Linked DNA regions of Homo sapiens: all the other regions are linked to region 7. Evidence: promoter capture Hi-C in 16 types of primary human blood cells and fetal thymus (Javierre and others, 2016). All regions are on one chromosome and are shown on one strand. The core of a region is centred on a gene start or on the middle of the fragment in contact, and the rest is flanking DNA. Distances in the headings are between cores, read along the strand shown. Region 1 overlaps SUGCT (succinyl-CoA:glutarate-CoA transferase). Region 2 overlaps SUGCT (succinyl-CoA:glutarate-CoA transferase). Region 3 holds the start of CDK13 (cyclin dependent kinase 13). Region 4 overlaps SUGCT (succinyl-CoA:glutarate-CoA transferase). Region 5 overlaps SUGCT (succinyl-CoA:glutarate-CoA transferase). Region 6 holds the start of MPLKIP (M-phase specific PLK1 interacting protein). Region 7 holds the start of INHBA-AS1 (INHBA antisense RNA 1).

The links. Contacts are between HindIII fragments. The CHiCAGO score rates a contact against its expected background, and 5 or more counts as called.
Region 1: a contact is called between a fragment that was not itself captured here and the fragment with the promoter of INHBA-AS1 in region 7, in 1 of 17 cell types (neutrophils). The highest score is 6.3, in neutrophils.
Region 2: a fragment that was not itself captured here is called in contact with the fragment with the promoter of INHBA-AS1 in region 7 in 2 of 17 cell types (monocytes and fetal thymus); the score reaches 6.1 in monocytes.
Region 3: the fragment with the promoter of CDK13 here is called in contact with the fragment with the promoter of INHBA-AS1 in region 7 in 1 of 17 cell types (neutrophils); the score reaches 6.0 in neutrophils.
Region 4: a contact is called between a fragment that was not itself captured here and the fragment with the promoter of INHBA-AS1 in region 7, in 2 of 17 cell types (megakaryocytes and naive CD4 T cells). The highest score is 5.9, in megakaryocytes.
Region 5: a contact is called between a fragment that was not itself captured here and the fragment with the promoter of INHBA-AS1 in region 7, in 1 of 17 cell types (total B cells). The highest score is 5.8, in total B cells.
Region 6: the fragment with the promoter of MPLKIP here is called in contact with the fragment with the promoter of INHBA-AS1 in region 7 in 2 of 17 cell types (neutrophils and monocytes); the score reaches 8.5 in neutrophils.

What each region holds. Positions count from the first base shown.
Region 1 is chr7:40,292,159-40,294,858 of GRCh38, forward strand. All of the region lies in intron 8 of SUGCT (succinyl-CoA:glutarate-CoA transferase), which reads left to right. LOC105375245 (a long non-coding RNA gene) reads right to left here. Exons shown (of 3, transcript XR_927196.3): 2 at 2,184-2,240. Among named protein-coding and RNA genes, the nearest start is that of SUGCT, 160 kb to the left of the region's middle. The HindIII fragment of the contact is 2,743 bases long and covers 34-2,700 here.
Region 2 is chr7:40,254,032-40,256,731 of GRCh38, forward strand. All of the region lies in intron 7 of SUGCT (succinyl-CoA:glutarate-CoA transferase), which reads left to right. The region is part of intron 2 of LOC105375245 (a long non-coding RNA gene); the gene reads right to left. Among named protein-coding and RNA genes, the nearest start is that of SUGCT, 120 kb to the left of the region's middle. The HindIII fragment of the contact is 4,040 bases long and covers 1-2,700 here.
Region 3 is chr7:39,948,802-39,951,505 of GRCh38, forward strand. It overlaps CDK13 (cyclin dependent kinase 13), which reads left to right and starts at 1,455. Exons shown (of 14, transcript NM_003718.5): 1 at 1,455-2,704. The coding sequence starts at 1,841. CDK13-DT (CDK13 divergent transcript) reads right to left here and starts at 618. Exons shown (of 1, transcript NR_158201.1): 1 at 1-618. RefSeq lists enhancers at 1-823, 323-452, 523-772, 824-1,742, 1,243-1,522 and 2 more and silencers at 1,013-1,242, 2,033-2,322, 2,393-2,452. The HindIII fragment of the contact is 3,453 bases long and covers 154-2,704 here.
Region 4 is chr7:40,216,891-40,219,590 of GRCh38, forward strand. All of the region lies in intron 6 of SUGCT (succinyl-CoA:glutarate-CoA transferase), which reads left to right. Among named protein-coding and RNA genes, the nearest start is that of SUGCT, 83 kb to the left of the region's middle. The HindIII fragment of the contact is 3,437 bases long and covers 1-2,700 here.
Region 5 is chr7:40,339,014-40,341,713 of GRCh38, forward strand. All of the region lies in intron 9 of SUGCT (succinyl-CoA:glutarate-CoA transferase), which reads left to right. Among named protein-coding and RNA genes, the nearest start is that of SUGCT, 210 kb to the left of the region's middle. The HindIII fragment of the contact is 2,505 bases long and covers 94-2,598 here.
Region 6 is chr7:40,133,349-40,136,048 of GRCh38, forward strand. It overlaps MPLKIP (M-phase specific PLK1 interacting protein), which reads right to left and starts at 1,274. Exons shown (of 2, transcript NM_138701.4): 1 at 881-1,274. The coding sequence starts at 1,219. It overlaps SUGCT (succinyl-CoA:glutarate-CoA transferase), which reads left to right and starts at 1,657. Exons shown (of 14, transcript NM_001193313.2): 1 at 1,657-1,772. The coding sequence starts at 1,673. RefSeq lists silencers at 1,000-1,069, 1,530-1,729 and an enhancer at 1,280-1,349. The HindIII fragment of the contact is 4,548 bases long and covers 1-2,700 here.
Region 7 is chr7:41,692,472-41,695,171 of GRCh38, forward strand. It overlaps INHBA-AS1 (INHBA antisense RNA 1), which reads left to right and starts at 1,448. Exons shown (of 4, transcript NR_027118.2): 1 at 1,448-1,617. The region is part of intron 2 of INHBA (inhibin subunit beta A); the gene reads right to left. The HindIII fragment of the contact is 8,944 bases long and covers 1-2,700 here.

The DNA of each region.
Region 1 (2,700 bases), core at 155-2,654, 1.4 Mb before region 7:
GTACAAATGAAGGTCTTTATCAGTTCTGATTCAAGCTTTACATTGCTGGTGGAGTTGTACTTATTTTTAATTTCAGCAGTTTTATATTTTAGGTGGATTTTCATAGGGACAGGGGATTAACACATTGTTGAGAGACAATTGTAAGAAATTTCAGCCTTGCTCTAGAGTCTGTATTTTTTAAAGTTCCAGAAACACTGTCTTCTTGGTGGGATAGTTATTTTCAGTTCAATCAGTTCTTCCTGAAACTGAACCACACTTACAGGATAGACGACAATTCAGATGCATTTTGAGGTTTTCTTTAAAGGAAGCGGCAGACACTTAAAGCATGATTTGAAATCATGTAAGTCATTGAGTCCTTTATGAAATGATGATTTCCTTTCCACCAGACAGCTCTGTAATTCTTTTATATCTTTGATTCTATTGAACTCAAGCCAGGTCACAATAGTAAAATGAGTACATTCTCCTTTTGCCTTCTGCTAAGTCTGTAGGCCCAGTTTGAGTTTGAAATTTGTACTTCATTAAGTAAAGACATACTTTTAAAATTCTGTGACTGTAGTTTCTGGTGCGGTATAGTCAGATATGTTTTGTCAGGTTTAATAATGCACTATCTTATCTTGTAAGCCCCTGAGGGAAAATCAGGTGCATCCATCTTTCAGTCTTTTAACTACAGAAGCTCTTGACTTGAGATATCAGCTCAATGAATCTGAAATTTAGTTTATTCTGATACACATTCTACTTCTGTATTTTCTAACTATCCCCAAGCTGTTGCAGATTGGTATGTAACGTCATGAAAAAAACCATATTGGTCACTTCATCATATTATTTAATGAAACCGATCTAGAAGACAGGTTCAGAGCTGTATTTAGAGCATAAGTTTTCTGTCAATGGAGGCTGGAATTAATGATTTGCATTTTTGTTTGTTTAAAAGTGTTGAAAACTTTTTTTTTAATTGTATGTAGTCATATTTGGTAATGAGAATTTTTCTGTGTTTATACCATACTTAAGATTTTTATGGCAGCTTGTTAGGTCTTATTGTCACTATGAAAAAGTGAGTATTAACCATTTTGTTGTTGTTGCTACTGTTAAAAGTCTCAAGTTGAGTGTGCTTTGACGCTCAGGAGGACTCAACTTGGTCTCTAAGCTGTACCTTGGTCCTTCACAACACCAGTGCTCAACGTTGGCTGCCCATTGGAATCACCTGTGGAGTTTTCAGAATTTCTGCTGTCTCTTTCCCATCCCCAGAGATTCTAATTTAACTGGTATAGGGCATGGTCTGTGTACTGAGGTTTTAAAAATCTCTCCGGATGATTCTGATGGGCAGCAAAGTTTGAAAACTGCTGTCCCACAGAATAATTCATGAACTTATGATGTATAAAAGTACCAGTGAGCTTTTTGAAAAACTGATTCCTGGGCCTCACACGCAAGCATTGAGATCCACTCAGTCTGGGGCAGGATTCAGGAATCTGCATTTTGGAGTAGCACCCCAGATAACTCTGATGCAGTAGACCCAGGGGTTACAATTTAAAAAGAAAGTGTGTTTTAGGGTAAACCTGCAAGGTGTGTCTCTTATGTAGAGAGGCTTCTTGGATGGTTCCACTAATACTATCATTTGATACTCCTAAAATTAAATGGCATTGACTTTCCCCAAATAATTTTTAATCAAAACTGAAGTTGTAATTGTAGCAACTTTCTTGGCTTGTCTGGGGGATAGTTCTGTACTTAATGTCTTTGCTCTACAGGCTACCTCAGGACAGGGGACTAAAAGAACATACAGTGATTTAGAAAGAGCTTTTTTTTTTGTTTTTTTGAGTTGGAGTCTCGCTCTGTTGCTCAGACTGGAGTGCAGTGGCACAATCTTGGTTCACTGCAACCTCCGCCTCCCAGATTCAAGCGATTCACCTGCCTCAGCCTCCCTAGTAGCTGGGATTACAGGCACGCACTATGGCGCCCCACTATTTTTTGTATTTTTAGTAGAGACGGGGTTTCACCATGCTGGCCAGGCTGGTCTTGCCTACTCCTGACCTCAGGTGATCCGCCTGCCTCAGCCTCCCAAAGTGCTGGGATTACAGGCTTGAGCTACCGCGTCTGGCCTAGACAGAACTTTAAGGCTTGATAACTGTGTGGATACAATGAACACAACTGAGGCAACGAAGATATGGACTAAGTGAATAACAGCAGCTTACCTGTGTAACTGGTAGTCTTTAGGAGTGTTTAGGAGCTCTTCATCTGAAGCCCTTGTCCTGAAAGGAAGCAGCAGCAGAGAGGGACATTCCAATGGCCATAGACATGAACCTCAAGTTAGATTCCGCTGGTCACATATTGGTTCCAGAGTTTACATACCAGTCTTTTAAATCATATTCACTTCCCATAGATGCGTTATGATGATGAAGATGATGATGATTTGAGACGGAGTTTCACTCTGCCACCCAGGCTGGAGTGCAGTGGCATTGTGATCTCGGCTCACTGCAACCTCCGCTTCTCAGGTTCAAGTGATTCTCCTGCCTCTGCCTCCCAAGTAGCTGGGATTACAGGTGCCCACCACCACGCCCGGCTAGTTTTTGTACTTTTAGTAGAGATGGGGTTTCACCATGTTGGTCAGGCTGGTCTCGGCCTCCTGACCTCAGGTGGTCCGCACACCTCAGCCTCCCAAAGTGCTGGGATTACAGGTGTGAGCCACTGTGCCTGGCCCTGTTGATGCAT
Region 2 (2,700 bases), core at 198-2,697, 1.4 Mb before region 7:
GAAGCTCATATGATATTTCATTCGTTATTTCATAAAAGTTATATCACTAGGTGGTTCTACTTTGTTTTTCTTATATTTGACCCCTAAATGGAAGGAAAGCCGAAAGAAGAGTTGTCTGTGAAATTTATATTGGAAAGCAAAATCTTCAAATTCCTCTAAAACCTCTTTTCTAAAACAGAGTGCTAGTGAAAGATTTCACACACACATACACACATACACAATGAATCCTGGTTTTTCAAGAAATGTCTTTTGGGGGAAAGGGACTCCCCTATTTGAGATGTTTCTTTTTTCATAGAAAGTATTTCATTGTGGAAGGATTATGTCTTATTCTGAAATATCTAATGCTTGCTAAAAATTTACTTATTTATTTACTTATTTATTTTTTTGCAACAGTCTTGTTCTGTCGCCCAGGCTGGAGTGCAGTGGTGTGATCTCGGCTCTCCGCAACCTCTGCCGCCTGGATTCAAGCAATTCTCCTGTCTCAGCCTCCTGAGTAGCTGGGATTACAGGTACCACCACACCCAGCTAATTTTTGTATTTTTTAGTAGAGGTGGGGTTTCACCATGTTGGCTGGACTGGTCTTGAACTCCTGACCTAAAGTGATCTACCTGCCTTGGCCTCCCAAGGTGCTGGGATTACAGGTGTCAGCCACCGCACCCAGCCAACAATTTATTTATTTTGTAAAAGATCATGCAATCTTCTGTAGTTTAAAATGTCAGGTTTTACCTCTGTTATATTCCTCTATCATTCAAATGCCTTTTAAATAAAATGTACCTTTTTTTATAAAAAAAATTTATTTTTCAAAAATTTAGCACATTCATGGTAATGATCCTTTAGTTTTTATGTGATCCAAATAAAATATTTGCTTTAAAGTTTGAAAAACAATAGTAATGAAAGGATATGTTGGCTGGGCGCGGTGGCTCACACCTGTAATCCCAGCACTTTGGGAGGCCAAGGTGGGGCGGGGGGAGCATCATCTGAGGTCGGGAGTTCGAGACCAGCCTGGCCAACATGGAGAAACCCCCATCTCTACTAAAAACAGAAAATTAGCCATGCGTGGTGGCAGTCACCTGTAATCCCAGCTACTCAGGAGGCTGAGGCAGGAGAACCACTTGAACCCGGGAGGCAGAGGTTGCAGTGAGCTGAGATCTCACCATTGCACTCCAGCCTGGGCAACAAGAGTGAAACTTCATCTCAAAAAAAAAAAAAAAAAGAATCCTGGAAAGGATATGTCTTCAGTTTGAACTTGTCCATAAATTGCAAGAGAAAAGAACACTGGTAGAAGGATTAGGCAAGAGACGGTTTATTTTTGCCTGACTTAATGAAAGTATTGAAAATAACAGGCTGAGGCTGGGCACAGTGGCTCACGCCTGTAATCCTAGCACCTTGGGAGGCCGGGGCCGGCTGTTCACCTGAGGTCAGGAGTTCAAGACCAGCCTGGCCAACATGAGGAAACCTCGGCTCTGCTAAAATACAAAAATTAGCCGGGCATGATGGTGGATGCCTGTAATCCCAGCTATTCAGGAGGCTGAGACGGTAGAATTGCTTGAACCCGGGAGAGGGCGGTTGCAGTGAGCCGAGATCACGCCACTGCACTCCAGCCTGGGCGGCTGAGTGAGACTCTGTATCAAAAAAAAAAAAAAAAAAAAAAAAAAAGAAAATAACTGTCTGCATTGTTTGTTTATGATCTGTAGCTTTGCATATTTTCCTTTATTTGTAATCTCATTGCTCCTTGATATTTTATTTTCGCCATCACAGTCTAAGAAGGAGAGATTGGACCTTGGTCTTGATCTACTGCCATCTTGTACATAGATCTTTGAAATTCTCTATTCATTTGGTAAATATAATGGACAGAGTTAATACCAGGTACTATGAATGCTCACCTGATATTTGGTCCTTATGAAGGTGTAGATAGTTGTTAACTCCTTGTGTGTGCATGTTGGGGGATGGTCGGTGGAGCTTTTTATTCCACCATCTTGCTCCACCACTCTCCTTGACAGAGTTGGATCAGGGTTAAATTTATTGTCATCTCATGAAATCTAAATTTCTTTAAATTTTATGATCCCATTGGAATTTATTTAAGAAAAGTATAATTGCATAGTTGTTTCTGAGAGAAAAATAGAGAGGAAGAGATGATTTGCATGTCTCAAGAGTCAATGGGATTTATATTTAGAATTTCTTTTCCCCTGACATTTTTGGGTTGTGGATTAAGGTCCTTTCTGGGACCAGATACAGATGAAATTTCAGCCTGTTCCTTGTTTTCAGTTCCTTATGGCTAAGAAGATTGGTTTAGCCAATCTTAGTAGTTTTTGGCCTTCTCTATACAATGAAGATTCCATAGTAAGACCCATAGCAATGAAGCCAACCCAGGTCAGCTACAGCTGATTTATAGGTATCTTTTGGTTACCTATAAATAGTGCTGTTGCTGGTCGAAGCAGAATAAATAAATGAGATCAGAGACATTATTTGAGGAAAATGCTTAAAAATTTTCTCATCTAAATAATTTTACATTGGAGTTACATAGGGTGAGGAATGAGGATGCTGGTGTATTTCCTTTTTTGGGGAGAGAAAGATTCAAGCCCTTTGTTTGGACTGGGAATGAGGATTCTCAATGGTCAGTAGTCCTTGTTACAGAAACAGTTATTTGTTGGCATCTTTCTAAAGAGTCTTGCAAATGTAATCACATTTGGAATACATAAT
Region 3 (2,704 bases), core at 205-2,704, 1.7 Mb before region 7:
ACTAAGAGGGCAGTCCTCATTCGCACAAGATGTTTTTATTTCAAGCCTCCTGAGAATTTGGAATTTTCAGTAGTTCCTTTTAACATTCCACTTATTTCCTGTATTGATTTAAAGCTTTAAAAATTTTTATTTTAAAGTAAATAGTGTTACCGAAGCTTGAGCTGTGATTCCCAAGTGTGTTTTTTAGGATAAGAAGGGGCCTCGCGGAAGTTGCGGTGAGCCGAGATCGCACCATTGCACTCCAGCCTGGGCAACGAGAGCGAAACTCAGTCTCAAAAAAAAAAAAAAAAAAAATGGGGCCTCGAACTTTGGCGTACGTGAGACAAGTTAAACCAACGCCATCTCCACCCTGTTTTGCGGGGTGTTTTCTCTCCTTTCGCAGCTGTTCCACTCCCAGGGCTTGACTGAAGGTACACGGGGGGTAACTGCCTACTCCAGAAGGCCACCAACAGCATTATTTCCCTCGCAGTCTCCAGAAACACTTGTTCTCACTGTGACCTTTCGCTCAACAGGCAGGCAGTGCGGCGTCTGCAGAGCCGGAACCGGCACTGCGCGCTGGACGCAAGCAACAAGCACGACAGGCGCGCCACCACGGGCAGAGTCTCAAGCAACAGCAGTGGGCGGCACACGAATCCTCTCCTTTCTTTAACCCTTCTTCACACGGAGTCCCACCCTCGCCGGAAGCCGAGCGGTTTCTACATCATGCCACTTCCGGTGCGGCCTGCCGGCCCCTGGCGGGAGCGAGCACGCCAGTGCGCGGTAACTTTGTTCCCGCCTCTCTTGCCCCGGCCACCTCTCATCTTCGGCTTTCTCTGAGCGTGAATTGCGGGCGCGCTCCCGGTCGTACGTCAGGGCTGAGGGGAAAAGCCGAAAGAGCGAGGCGAGAAGGAGGGGTTGTGGAGGTTAGGGCCCAACCAGCAAGTCCCGTTGCTCTCCCTCCTCCTGACGAGGAGCGGAGAGGGAAGGGGAGGAGCGAGCCGGGGCAGGCCGCGCACACCAGGAGCCTCCTCGTGGAGGGGGGGAGCGGAGGAAAGGGGTAGCTCCGCCACCTCTGCTGGCGGCGGCGGCGGCGGCGAAAGAAGAAGAAAGTCAGGGCCCGTACCTACCGCCACAGACTCAGAAACGCCCCTGCCCCCATCTCCCCGGAAATAGCCCCCCGCCCAGCCCCGCACAGTCGCTGCCCCAACCGAGAGCCGCAGCCCGGTCGCCCCCGCCTCGCCCCGCCCCGCTGCCCAGCCCCGCGGGCCGCAGAGTGCGCGAGGCCCTAGGCCGGGAGTTGTTGTCAGGCCCAGGCCACTTCCGAGGCGCCTGCGGTGTGTCGCCGCCACCACAGGAGGACGACGTCGACGCCGAGGAGGAGGCGGTGGAGGCGTGTTGTTGTCTCGCCCACTCCCCTCCCCTGAACTTGCACCCAACGTCAGGGCGCGATGGAGTGAAGCGGCGACGAAGGTGGTACTTCCGCGTTGCGCTGCCCGAGCCGAGAGCGCGGCCAAGGCCGCTCCCCCACCCCCGGGGGCACTTGGAGGACTCGGGACTCCCCCGCAGGTCAGCGCCCGGCGCATCTGGTGTTTTCGCTGCCGAGGATAGGACGACGAGCGCAATCGGGAGCTCCGCCGCCCGGATTCCTGCTTCCCTGGGGCCCGGAGGCTGCTGCGTACCCCACTGTGACCTGGAACCCAGGGACCCGAGTCCCGACCCGGATTATCGTGGCGCTTTTCCCGGCCGGCTCTGGTGCTCGGTGTCCCTCCGCCGCCGCTCCCGTTTCCGGCGGGGGAGATGGCCAGGATCTGACCCGGGAGGAGGCCGCACCCGCGCCGCGCTCTGCGGCTGGCTCTAGGCGATGCCGAGCAGCTCGGACACGGCGCTGGGGGGAGGCGGGGGCCTGAGCTGGGCGGAGAAGAAGTTGGAGGAACGCCGCAAGCGGAGGCGATTCCTGTCCCCTCAGCAGCCGCCGCTGCTGTTGCCGCTCCTGCAGCCGCAGCTCCTGCAACCGCCGCCGCCCCCGCCGCCTCTGCTCTTCCTGGCTGCTCCCGGCACGGCCGCCGCCGCAGCCGCCGCCGCCGCGGCCTCCTCCTCTTGCTTCAGCCCGGGCCCCCCTCTGGAGGTCAAGCGGCTGGCGAGAGGCAAGAGGCGCGCAGGAGGGCGGCAGAAGCGGCGTCGCGGGCCCCGCGCCGGGCAGGAGGCGGAGAAGCGTCGGGTCTTCTCGCTGCCCCAGCCGCAGCAGGACGGCGGTGGCGGTGCTAGTAGCGGCGGGGGTGTGACCCCGCTGGTGGAATACGAGGATGTGAGCTCCCAGTCCGAGCAGGGGCTGCTGCTGGGGGGGGCCAGCGCGGCAACGGCGGCGACGGCTGCCGGGGGAACGGGGGGCAGCGGCGGGAGTCCGGCCTCCTCCTCCGGCACCCAGCGGCGCGGGGAGGGGTCGGAGCGCAGGCCCCGCCGGGACCGCCGCAGCAGCAGTGGCCGCAGCAAGGAGCGCCACCGCGAGCACCGGCGGCGGGATGGGCAGCGCGGTGGCAGCGAGGCCTCCAAGTCCCGCAGCCGCCACAGCCACAGCGGCGAGGAACGGGCCGAGGTCGCCAAGAGCGGCAGCAGCAGCAGCAGCGGCGGCCGCCGGAAAAGCGCTTCGGCCACATCCAGCAGCAGTAGCAGCCGCAAGGACCGGGACTCGAAGGCCCACCGCAGCCGGACTAAGTCGTCCAAGGAG
Region 4 (2,700 bases), core at 127-2,626, 1.5 Mb before region 7:
ATACCCTCTCCATATAAGAAAGAATAAAAATCATTACAGGCAGTCAGGATGTTCAGGGCAAGTGTAAGTATTTTCTTTGTGGTGTTCTTTTTACTCTGTTCATTTGGATGCTGGCATTTCCCCCCCCTCAGTCTTATATTGAATGGCAAATTGTTTATGGAGTCTGTATCTGAATTTAGCAAGAGTTTGCTGCACTGAGGTTTCTAGTCTGTTGTCTTAACTGCCTGATACTGTGATTAAGCTAGGGCCACAGATACCATTTGATGTTTACCCTTCTCCGTTGCCCACCAACCTGTCTTGAATTGATTCCAGAATTATTCTTCTTCTTCTTTTTTTTAAGACAGGGTCTCACTCTGTCACCCAGGCTGGAGTGTCATGGCGCCATCTAAGACTGGCTGCGACCTCTGCCTCCGGGACTCAAGTGATCCTCCCACCTCAGCTTCCCAAGTGGCTCGGACTACAGGCTCGTGCCACTACACCAGGCTAATTTTTGTATTTTTTTGTAGAGAAGGGGTTTTCCCATGTTGCCCAGGATGGTCTTGATCTCCAAACCTCAAGCAATCTGCCGGCTCTGGTCTCCCAAAGTGCTGGGATTACAGGAATGAGCCACCGCGCCTGGCCAACTTCCTGAATTATCGTTGTCTCCACACCTGCTTACAGTGCTGTTCCTCAGGTATCAAAGCATCCCAGCATGTTGTGCCTTTCTCCCCATCCTCCTCTACTTTCTCCTCTGTTGTGTACTGGTAACTCGGAATCTCTGAATGGCTGTAGAAACAGAAAAGTGGATGGGACTGATGGAAAACCCAAATTTGGGTTTCAGAAAGCTATCTGTTGTTTGACATGCAGTCTAGAATTAATGACTATACCAGGTTACCCTTGGAACATCTTGCATTTGTGGGCAGAAACATTTGGCTACTTGCCACGGGGTTATCCTGAAAAAAGATGGGCTTGAAAAACTGTCACTAGTGTCACTTGAATTGGTCATCCATGGTTGGGGAGTTCCATTCCAAGAGGATAATTTACACAATTTAAAATAAAGGGGGCCAGGTGTGGTGGCTCACACCTGTAATCCTAGCGCTTTGGGAGGCCAAAGCAGGTGGAATCCTTGAGGTCAGGAGTTTGAGATCATCCTGGCTAACATGGTGAAACCCTGTCTCTACTAAAAATACAAAAATTATCTGGGCATGGTGGTGTGCACCTGTAATCCCAGTTTTTGGGAGGCTGAGGCAGGAGAATCATTTGAACCTGGGAGGCAGAGGCTGCCGTGAGCTGACACTGTGCCACAGTGCTCCAGCCTGGGTGACAGAGCTAGACTTTGTCTCAAAACAAAACAAAAAAAGTAAGTAGAATAAAGGGAGTGAAAGCAAGAGGTGCTCTTCAAAATTATTATTTGCTCATTGGAGAAATACACGCATGTACTACTTTGTAGTAGTAACATTTTCATTAAACAATAGAAGCCTGGCTCCCACTTCTCCAAATGAAGTGGGGGGAAAAGTGTTGTAACTGGATGTCATGATCAGTCATCTCAATTATAAAAGTTAGGTGACATTGTCTCTTTGGGACGTTGTTGAGCGGTGAAGCCAGCTGGGCTTCTGGGTCGGGTGAGGACTTGGAGAACTTTTCGGTTTAGCTAAAGGATTGTAAATGCACCAATCAGCGCTCTGTGTCTAGCTAAAGGTTTGTAAACACACCAATCAGCACTCAGTAAAAACGCACCAATCAGTGCTCTGTGTCTAGCTAATTGGGTGGGGACCTGAATAACTTTTCTGTCTAGCTAGAGGATTGTAAACACACCAATCAGCGCTCTGTGTCTAGCTAAAGGTTTGTAAATGCACCAATCAGCACTCTGTAAAAACGCACCAATCAGCATTCTGTGTCTAGCCAAAGGTTTGTAAACGCACCAATCAGCACTCTGTAAAAATGGACCAGTCAGCACTGTCTAAAATGGACCAATCAGCACTCTGTAAAATGGACCAATCAGCAGCATGTGGGTGGGGCCAAATAAGGGAATAAAAGCTGGCCACCCGAGCCAGTGGCGGAAATCCGTTGGGGTCCCCTTCCAAGTTGTGCCAGCTACATTCTTTCGCTCCTTGCAATAAGTCTTGCTACTACTCACTCTTTGGGTCCGCACTACCTTTATGAGCTGTAACACTCACCACGAAGGTCTGCAGCTTCACTCCTGAAGCCAGCGAGACCATGAACCCACCTGGAGGAACGAACAACTCTGGACGCGCCACCTTTATGAGCTATAACACTCATGGCCAAGGTCTGCAGCTTCCCTCCTGAAGTCAGCGAGACCAGGATCCCACCAGAAGGAAGAAACTCCAGACATGTCCGAATATCAGAAGGAACAAACTCCAGACACACCATCTTTAAGAACTGTAACACTCACCGCGAGGGTCCGCAGCTTAATTCTTGAAGTCAGTGAGACCAAGAACCCACCAATTCCGGACACATTTAAATACAAATTAGTAAGTAGAATAAAGGGAGTGAAAGCAAGAGGTGCTCTTCAAAATTATTATTTGCTCTTTGGAGAAGAAATACACACATGTACTACTTTGTAGTAATAACATTTTTATTAAACAATAGAAGCCTGGCTCCCACTTTTCCAAATGAAGGGGGGAGAAAGTGTTGTAATTGGATGTCATGATCAGTCATCTCAATTGTAAAAGTTAGGTGACACTGTCTCTTTGGGACGTT
Region 5 (2,700 bases), core at 96-2,595, 1.4 Mb before region 7:
CCAGACCCTGCTTGCCTGGGTATCAGCAGTGGAGGCTACAGAACAGTGAACATTGCTGAACAGCAAATGTTACTGCCTGATTGTTCCTCTGGAAGCTTTGTCTCAGAGGGGTACCCAGCCGTGTGAGGTGTCAGTCTGCCCCTACTGGGGGGTACCTCCCAGTTAGGCTACTCAGGGATCAGGGGCACACTTGAGGAGGCAGTCTTAGCGTTCTCAGTTCTCAAACTCTGTGTTGGGAGAACCACTGTTCTCTTCAAAGCTGTCAGACAGGGACATTTAAGTCTGCAGGGGTTTCTCTGCCTTTTGTTTGGCTATGCCCTGCCCCCAGAGGTGGAGTCTACAGAGGCAGGCAGGCCTCCTTGAGCTGCGGTGGGCTCCACCTGGTTCGAGCTTCCTGGCCGCTTTGTTTACCTACTCAAGCCTCAGCAATGGTGGGCGCCCCTCTCCTAGCCTCACTGCCATCTTGCAGTTTGATCTCAGACCGCTGTGCTAGCAATGAGTGAGGCTCCATGGGCGTGGGACCCTCTGAGCCAGGTGTGGGATATAATCTCCTGGTGTGCCGTTTGCTAAGACCATTGGAGAAGTGCAGTATTAGGGTGGGAGTGACCCGATTTTCCAGGTGCCATCTGTCACAGCTTCGCTTGGCTAGGAAAGGGTATTCCCTGACCCCTTGCGCTTCCTGGGTGAGGTGATGCTTCACCTTGCCTTGGCTCACGCTGGGTGGGCTGCACCCACTGTCCTGCACTCACTGTCCAACAAGTCCCAGTGAGATGAACCTGGTACCTCAGTTGGAAATGCAGAAATCACCCGTCTTCTGCATCACTTACGCTGGGAGCTGTAGACTGGAGCTGTTGCTCTTTGGCCATCTTGGAACCGCCCTTTTTTGCCCAGTGGCTCTTAAACTTTCTTGTTGCCTGTAATTCTTTTGAGGAACTGATGAAATCTATGAAAGCCTTTCTTAGAAAAGTACACATATTGATATACATGCATGATTTTTGCCTGGGATATCAGGAGCTTCTTAGACTTCCTAGAACTCATTCCTGGACCCTAGGTTAAGATTATCTGCCAGAAACCAACTCAATATGGTAAGGATAGTGAAATTACATTGGGAACACTGGAAAATTAGAACAAATAGTAGTAAGTAGTATGAGAGAAATCACACTATACAACTGAAAAAAGATTGTGCATAAGTATCTGCCACATAGGGCAAGAAGTGTTAGAATTACATAAGGAATGGAATTATACTGGACTTGGGCCTAGGACTGTGCAGGGATTGGTACAGGAAATAATCTGTGATTATTGTAATAAGGCTCACAACTCAATTTCACTTAACCTTCTAAAGGGAAATAAAGGCCAAAAATAAAAAAAAAACCCTATCACATTATTCCTCAATTTAAGAGAATGGAACTATGATCAAATCAACGTGTGCATTAAGTTAAAAAATGAAAGTAATATTTTTAAAAGTCTGTAACTTGTAAGAAATCTGGAAATGCTTTAAATACATTAATAGAAGGGCAGGGGAATACGTCATATCAAAGATTAGGAGCTCATATAAAGACTTTTGCATCCATTTCATAAAGTAAAAGAAGCAAAAGTAGGGGGAAAAAGTAGGCAAAAGATTGTTCAAGTGAGAACAGGGAAGACCTCAAAGTGTGACAGGTCAGGTGTAAATAAGGAGCCAGTCCGGCTATAAAGGAATTCAAGACACAGCACAAAAAGGACTGCAATTCAGAAATAAAAGCGTTTTTATACATGAAAGATAGAAGGTCGACTGGAGAATCAATGAGACTGCTTGATGATCAGGGTGCTCACGGGGAAAAAAGGAGATCTGGAAACTCAATGAATTCTTCACTTTGGTCTTTGTTGAAATGTAGAACTTTCCACTGTCATCATGTCTTTTGAAGCAAAGAGGTGAGGTATGTAGTATTAGATCAAATAGTGATAAGGGAACAGGATGTTCTGCCTGATTGGCCTGATGGATATAAGTAAATTGCTGAAACTTTATGACATCCATTATGAGGGTCTGAAGAAACTCAAGGGAATAAATGGATCTAAATGTGAAATAAGTTATTGCACTCACTCTTCAGTATTAGTGAATTCTTGTTTACATTCTAATGAAACCTACTGAGGAGACCCTACAATCTATTGACTGTTGAATCTCATTCATATTAGTAAACTCCAGAAATTGTAGGATCATTGACCATTTTGTATAATGAATGGAGAAAAGCATCCTGTTTTTTATAATATACTTGAGCTATTTGAAAGGGTAAACAAGCACCAGGAAAAAAGCAAGAAACAATTTGTTTAGACTTTCAAGGAGTCAAAAAGTTTCACAATGCTATTCCAAATTGTGTTACCATGGTATTAGGAGGGAAATTTCACCACAGGTAGGTATTAATAGAGAAAAAAAAAGTGTAGAATGTATGCGCCTGCTGTTGAGGGAGATGTGTAAACAGTGAGGTCCCTCTTGGGATTTCTGCTGGGCCTCTTTATTAAACATGTTTATAGATAATCTGAAAGGGCAGGCACACAATGAAGTTTCTAAAGGTACAGGATTTAAGCTCTTTTGGCCAGTAAAATTATAAATCAACTGGAATAAGCTTTTGAAAGATGGCATAAATGGACAAGAAAGTGGCGGGGAGGATCCAGTACTGTGAGAAGTGCTACCTATTTAGGGAAAAAGAAACTACACTAAACTTG
Region 6 (2,700 bases), core at 24-2,523, 1.6 Mb before region 7:
GCTTAAAAGTTGTGACTTGAACCTAAATAATGTTCAATTACAAAGTCCATGCTTCCTTTAATCAAGTGTTCCTATTTTTTAAAAAAAGTACTTAAAGCAATTCGTTATTCTCATTTATTTATAATTCCATGACCACTGTCATCTCAAATACTTTTGTGTCTAATGTAGTAACTTTGCAGTAATTAAATACAAGCAGTGATGAAATCAAGTAATTATATTCAATTTTCCCTCGAAATTTTCACTTTTTTCAGGAGAAAACAATACTATAGTTTTAAAGTTTCTAGAACCTTTCTAGCTCATGAACATTTTCTTTACTCCTTAGCTCCAGGCTCAAAAGGGGTAGGGGGTTGGTGTAGAATACAGCAAGTTGGAAAACCACGTAGTTGCAAGTTGTAAACCACAGAAATCCCAGACATGCTAGAGATACTCTCTCTGTCTTTTGTATTTACTCTCACTAAAGGAATGGAAAACTTCCACTACCACCGATTTTCTTTTCAGGGAAGTTGGAGCAGAAGCCAGTGTAGCTCGAAAGAAAGATAAAAAAAAAAAAAAAAAAAAGAAAAAGAACTATTTCTTGAAACAAACTGGCAAGGCCTTTGGCAAACAGGAGGAAATGGAGAATTAGGAAAATCTGTGTACGGGTGGCAGTGTATTGGTTAAAAGCACGAGGGCTCGAAAACAGAACGTACGGCTCTGCCACTCTTTCGGATAATCTTCCGGAAGTCACTCAACTTCTCTAAGCCTCAGTTCGCTCATCTGCAAAATTGGGCTAACAATAGTACCTCAGAGAGGATTAGACAAAATAATCCACGTAAAGGGAATATTAGTACCGTGCCTGCCATAAAGTAAGAGCTCGGCAAACGCTGGCTATTATTATTACCTGGGGGTGGGTCTGCTGCTGCCCTGGGGAGTAGCCGAATTGCTGCTGGGACCCCGCGGGGGACCTGGAGTAGGAGCCAGGGTAGCCGCCAGGGGACGGAGACCCGAACCGGCCCCCCGGGAAGCTGCCGCCGTGTCGCGGAGAGTGACTGCTCCCGTACGGCCTAGACCGGGGCCCGTACGGCGGCGTGTGGTGCGGACTCCCGTACCCGTCTCGAGGGGAGGGCGGCCGTGGTCCGCCCCCGCCCGGGGTTCCCCGGAAGCTGCTTCCGCTACCCCAACCTCCTCCACCCGGACCAGGGTAAGGAGGAGTTGGGGGCCGAAAATTCTGTCGCTGCATATCAGGAGCCAAAGCCGAAAACCTCGCAGCCGCGTTCTCCCACCGGAACTGTATCAACCGGCCCTCCGCAGAGAACTGCTAGTCCTTTACCAAAACAGTCCTCCGACCGCAGCCACCCTACGGCACATCAGTTCCGGCGTCACAAAGGTTCCGCCAGGGGCGGCGGGATTACCTAAATCACTGACTTGGCGAGAGACTCAGTGGATTTAAGTGAAAAGAGGAAGAAAAGGAGACAGGAAAGGACGGACACCCAAGCCCAGCAACAACCTTTCCAGTCTGAGTGCCCTTGGTCTGACCGACAGACTAGAAGCTGGCCCAGCAGGCGACTAGTGCTCAGCCCCGCCCGGCGGGGGCGGGGTCTGCGGCGTCCGTGGGCGCCCCCCAGTGGCGGCGGGTGGCGCCGCACGGAGTTCGCCGCTTGCACCGGGACCGATGCCATCTGAGACGCACGCGATGCTGGCGACGCTGGCGAGGGTGGCAGCTCTGCGCAGAACCTGCCTCTTCTCCGGCCGGGGCGGCGGGAGGGGGCTGTGGACTGGCCGCCCGCAGTCAGGTACCCTCCGAGATTCGGTCTGGGTGGCTAAAGGGATCCCTGCCCCAGCTTGCCTCCTCGGGCGCCCTGAGGAGAGCAATTAGGGTCTGAAGTCTCTGCTGACCCCTTAGCGGTGGCTTTGCTCGCCTCCCTGCAACCCCGTTCCGTGGGCCTGCGGCCGGCCTGCCCCGCTCTGGCCGCCCAGGGTCGCCTCTGTCCCGTGCGTTGTTGTGACCGAGGGCTCCGTGCGCCGTGGGGTCCCGCTCCTGCGCGTCCCGCGGCTCGCGTTTGGGGCCTCTTTACTCCTGTCCTTTCGTCCGCCAAGTTTAAGTAACTTCGAAAATGCACACCAAGCCACATTTCAGAAAGGACTTTAGCCCGCTGCTTTGAATAACTTGACACTTCATGTACAATAAAAGATGCCCTTGTACAGTTACCTGTTGCAGAATTTTATTTAGAGGATGAAATTTAGCTTTACTACAGTGTTATAGAACTTTCTTTACTCCCTCTGAATTTGGGAATGGTAATCCACTATGAATCTTTTTTTTCCTTTTTTCTTTTTTTCTCTTTTTTTTGAGACGGAGTCTCGCTGTCTCGCCCAGGCTGGACTGCAGTGGCGCGATCTCGGCTCACTGCAACCTCCTCCTCCCGTGTTCAGGAGATTTTCCTGCTTCAGCCTTCCGAGTAGCTGGGATTATAGGCATGCGCCACCACGCCCAACTAATTTTTGTATTTTTAGTAGAGACGGGGTTTCGCCATATTGGCCAGGCTGGTCTCGAATTCCTGACCTCAAGTTATCCTCCCGCCTCGGCCTCCCAAAGTGTTGAGATTACAGACGTAATCTCTATGATTATGCGCGCGGCCCACTATGAATCTTGAAATTAGTTGCAGGATGCAGGATTTTTTTTTTTTTTTTTGAGACAGTCTCGCTCTGTCGCCCAGGCTGGAG
Region 7 (2,700 bases), core at 198-2,697:
ATTTAACACACTCTGCACACTGTGATTATGATAGTGGTAAATTCACTGAGGCAAGGGCCAAGCAGGGCTGCAGATGGATAGGAAAGGTTCTCTGGCATCTTTCTATAAACTTACGAGGATGCTGGCCATGATGATGGTGGCGGTGGTAAGGGGAGTTCCTCTGACTCCGACCTCATGTCTTTGGCAGGAGTTGAAATGAATAATAAAGCTGGGTTTATGATTAGATAGAATACCAGAGCAGAGAGAGCAGTTAGAGGGAGAAGCTGTCTTATTTTAGGAAGCATGATGACTTATTTTTTCAAAATCTGAATTCGATATTCCCCTTTGCTAAGAATTGGTGTGGGTTTTGTTGTTGTTGTTTGTTTCTTAACAAAATAAAAGAGAAGAAGATTCCCATAAGCAGAGCTTAATCATTTAAATCTAAAAAGGCAATCAGCAGTTGATTTTAGGGTGGCAGGGTCCTGCCAAGGCCTTAGGAGAAGGCCGAGGGAAACCTCCCAAGCCTTGGATAACTAGCCTGGAGGGTGTGCAGGTTTCCTCCAGCTTGGGCACATCTGCCTTGCCCCATAGAGAATGTTAACAAGATACCTGCTGTTTTCCCTTCTGCCTCTATGCAGGACAGCTTCTGAAATCCTAAACTGCACAGGGTGTCACTCCAAAAACAGACAGATAGTAGCTGCTAAATTAGAGAACCCAGAGGGCACAAGGTTGGGTTTTGTTTTTCTAGGAAAGAGTGTAAAACTGGAGTGTCTGACTAGTGCCCCGGATAGGGAGGCTTAATAGGTTTGGGGTAACTCATCCCCATGAGCTCTGCTCTACTCTCATCCACACCTGCCAGAAGGGGTCAGGGTGAAGCCGATGGACAGCAGTGCTGACCCGCATGCAGTGGACTTTCCATGAATAACACCCAAGGCTGACTACAGATGTTTAGGTGGGGGTGCCGAGGGAGGGTTACTTGGCTGACTAGAATTAGGGACAGCCGTGTGCAAATTGCTTTTTTAGGGCCAGAGAGGCTGAGGCTGCTGGCTTCCAGTCACACAGCCTACAGGACAGCCCCTGATTTCACAAGAGCAGGTTTCTGATGCATGATCTAGCCCCACCCCTTCTTCACAGGCAGCTGTACTTGGAAGCAAATGATTTAGTGTTCCTGAGAGAGGATTGTACAAAGAGAGTACTCATTAGAGGGGGCTCAATCTGTCAGGTGCTGTTATATTAGGATCAGAGAGTCATCATAAAATGACTTTCATGCTGGTCTTGGCTGATAATTAACTGCATGGCATCGCCTGCGTATTGTAGAGAGGCAAGGGTGCTGATTTATGCATCCGTTTAATTATCTGAATTGAAAGACTCTGTTCCCTGTATTTGCATCCACTGCCTGCGTGCTTTCTCTCTCCCCCATATTTCTGACATTTGGATTTTCCCCCTACTAATTGACATGCCTGTCGCCTCCTTCTCCTGGTGTCCATTTCTGGAACTGCTATTTGTATATTGCATGATATTTTATCAGGAAAAAATATAAAACAGATCTAATTTCATGAAAATGCTGTTGCCATAATGCTCAGGAGAACAGGGGGAAGAGAGAGATTCAAGTCTTCCTAATGTCTACCTTATATGCAGGTACATTTTACAAGTTCTATTGTATTCTGACTTATTAAGCAGTGCATATTTCTTTCTTTTACATTAGCTTTCATTGCAGAAGGGTGTGGGGAGATGAGACTGCTGGAAACTGACGTGGGATTGATGTTTATCAGGGCTGTAGGCTTCAGAAATATATTAAGCCTCGGAATGTCCTAGGTATGAAAAAGATAATAAATAACAGGTCAATTTATTATATTCCCTTTATCTCTATATTACCTGAGAGAGATTGCTATACTGCAGTGACACTTTCAAGATGCCCCAATCCTCCAATCTCCATGCATAACAATTTGAAAAAGGGAAGGTTGACTAAGGCTGGGATGTTCAGGATCAATTTCTAATCAGTTTCAGGTTTTACTCAAATATCTCATGCTGTAAACTCTTGAAATGAATGTCTTCCCATAGTGCGCCGTGAGCAGGTTCTGCATTAGTTTGTACAGGTGCGACCTAGGTTCCTGCACTATTACCTAGCTAACCAGATATAGCTGGTTGCTTTGCGAACCTTTCATTACCTGCTCTCTAATAATATTCTTTTCATCCTCTGTGCTATTTTTTCCCTCCCGAGGCTTGTGAGCAAGGCTGTATCACAGCCTGCTCTGCCTGAGTAATTCACTAAGAAAGTCCCACGCAAACCCATGTGGGTGATAATATTTCATCACTTAAACCTCTATGAGCTTGGTGGACACATACCAAAGAGAGAGAAAAAGAGGTGCAGAAAAATGGGCAAAGAGAAATTTTGTACCTCACAGGGAATACCTCTGAAATGCTGCTGGGTGGGAAGGATTGGACAGAGGAGAGACTGTGTAAGCTGGAAGGAAAGATAGCTGGAAGGGTGTTTGCAGCACATTTTCCTTTGCTTTCAGAATTTTAAAAATGTTTTGAATAAGTCAATCATGAAGGCATGGCAAGGGTTAAGCAACTAAGCCCCTTGTTGTTCCCTCCCCCTACACTAAGATGCAAAATGCTGGACTCATCCAAAAGTCCAGCATCTCAGATTTGTGGGTCTATGAACATTTTCAGTTAAATAAGCAACACACACATGCAGTGTTTCGATTTGGTTTTGTT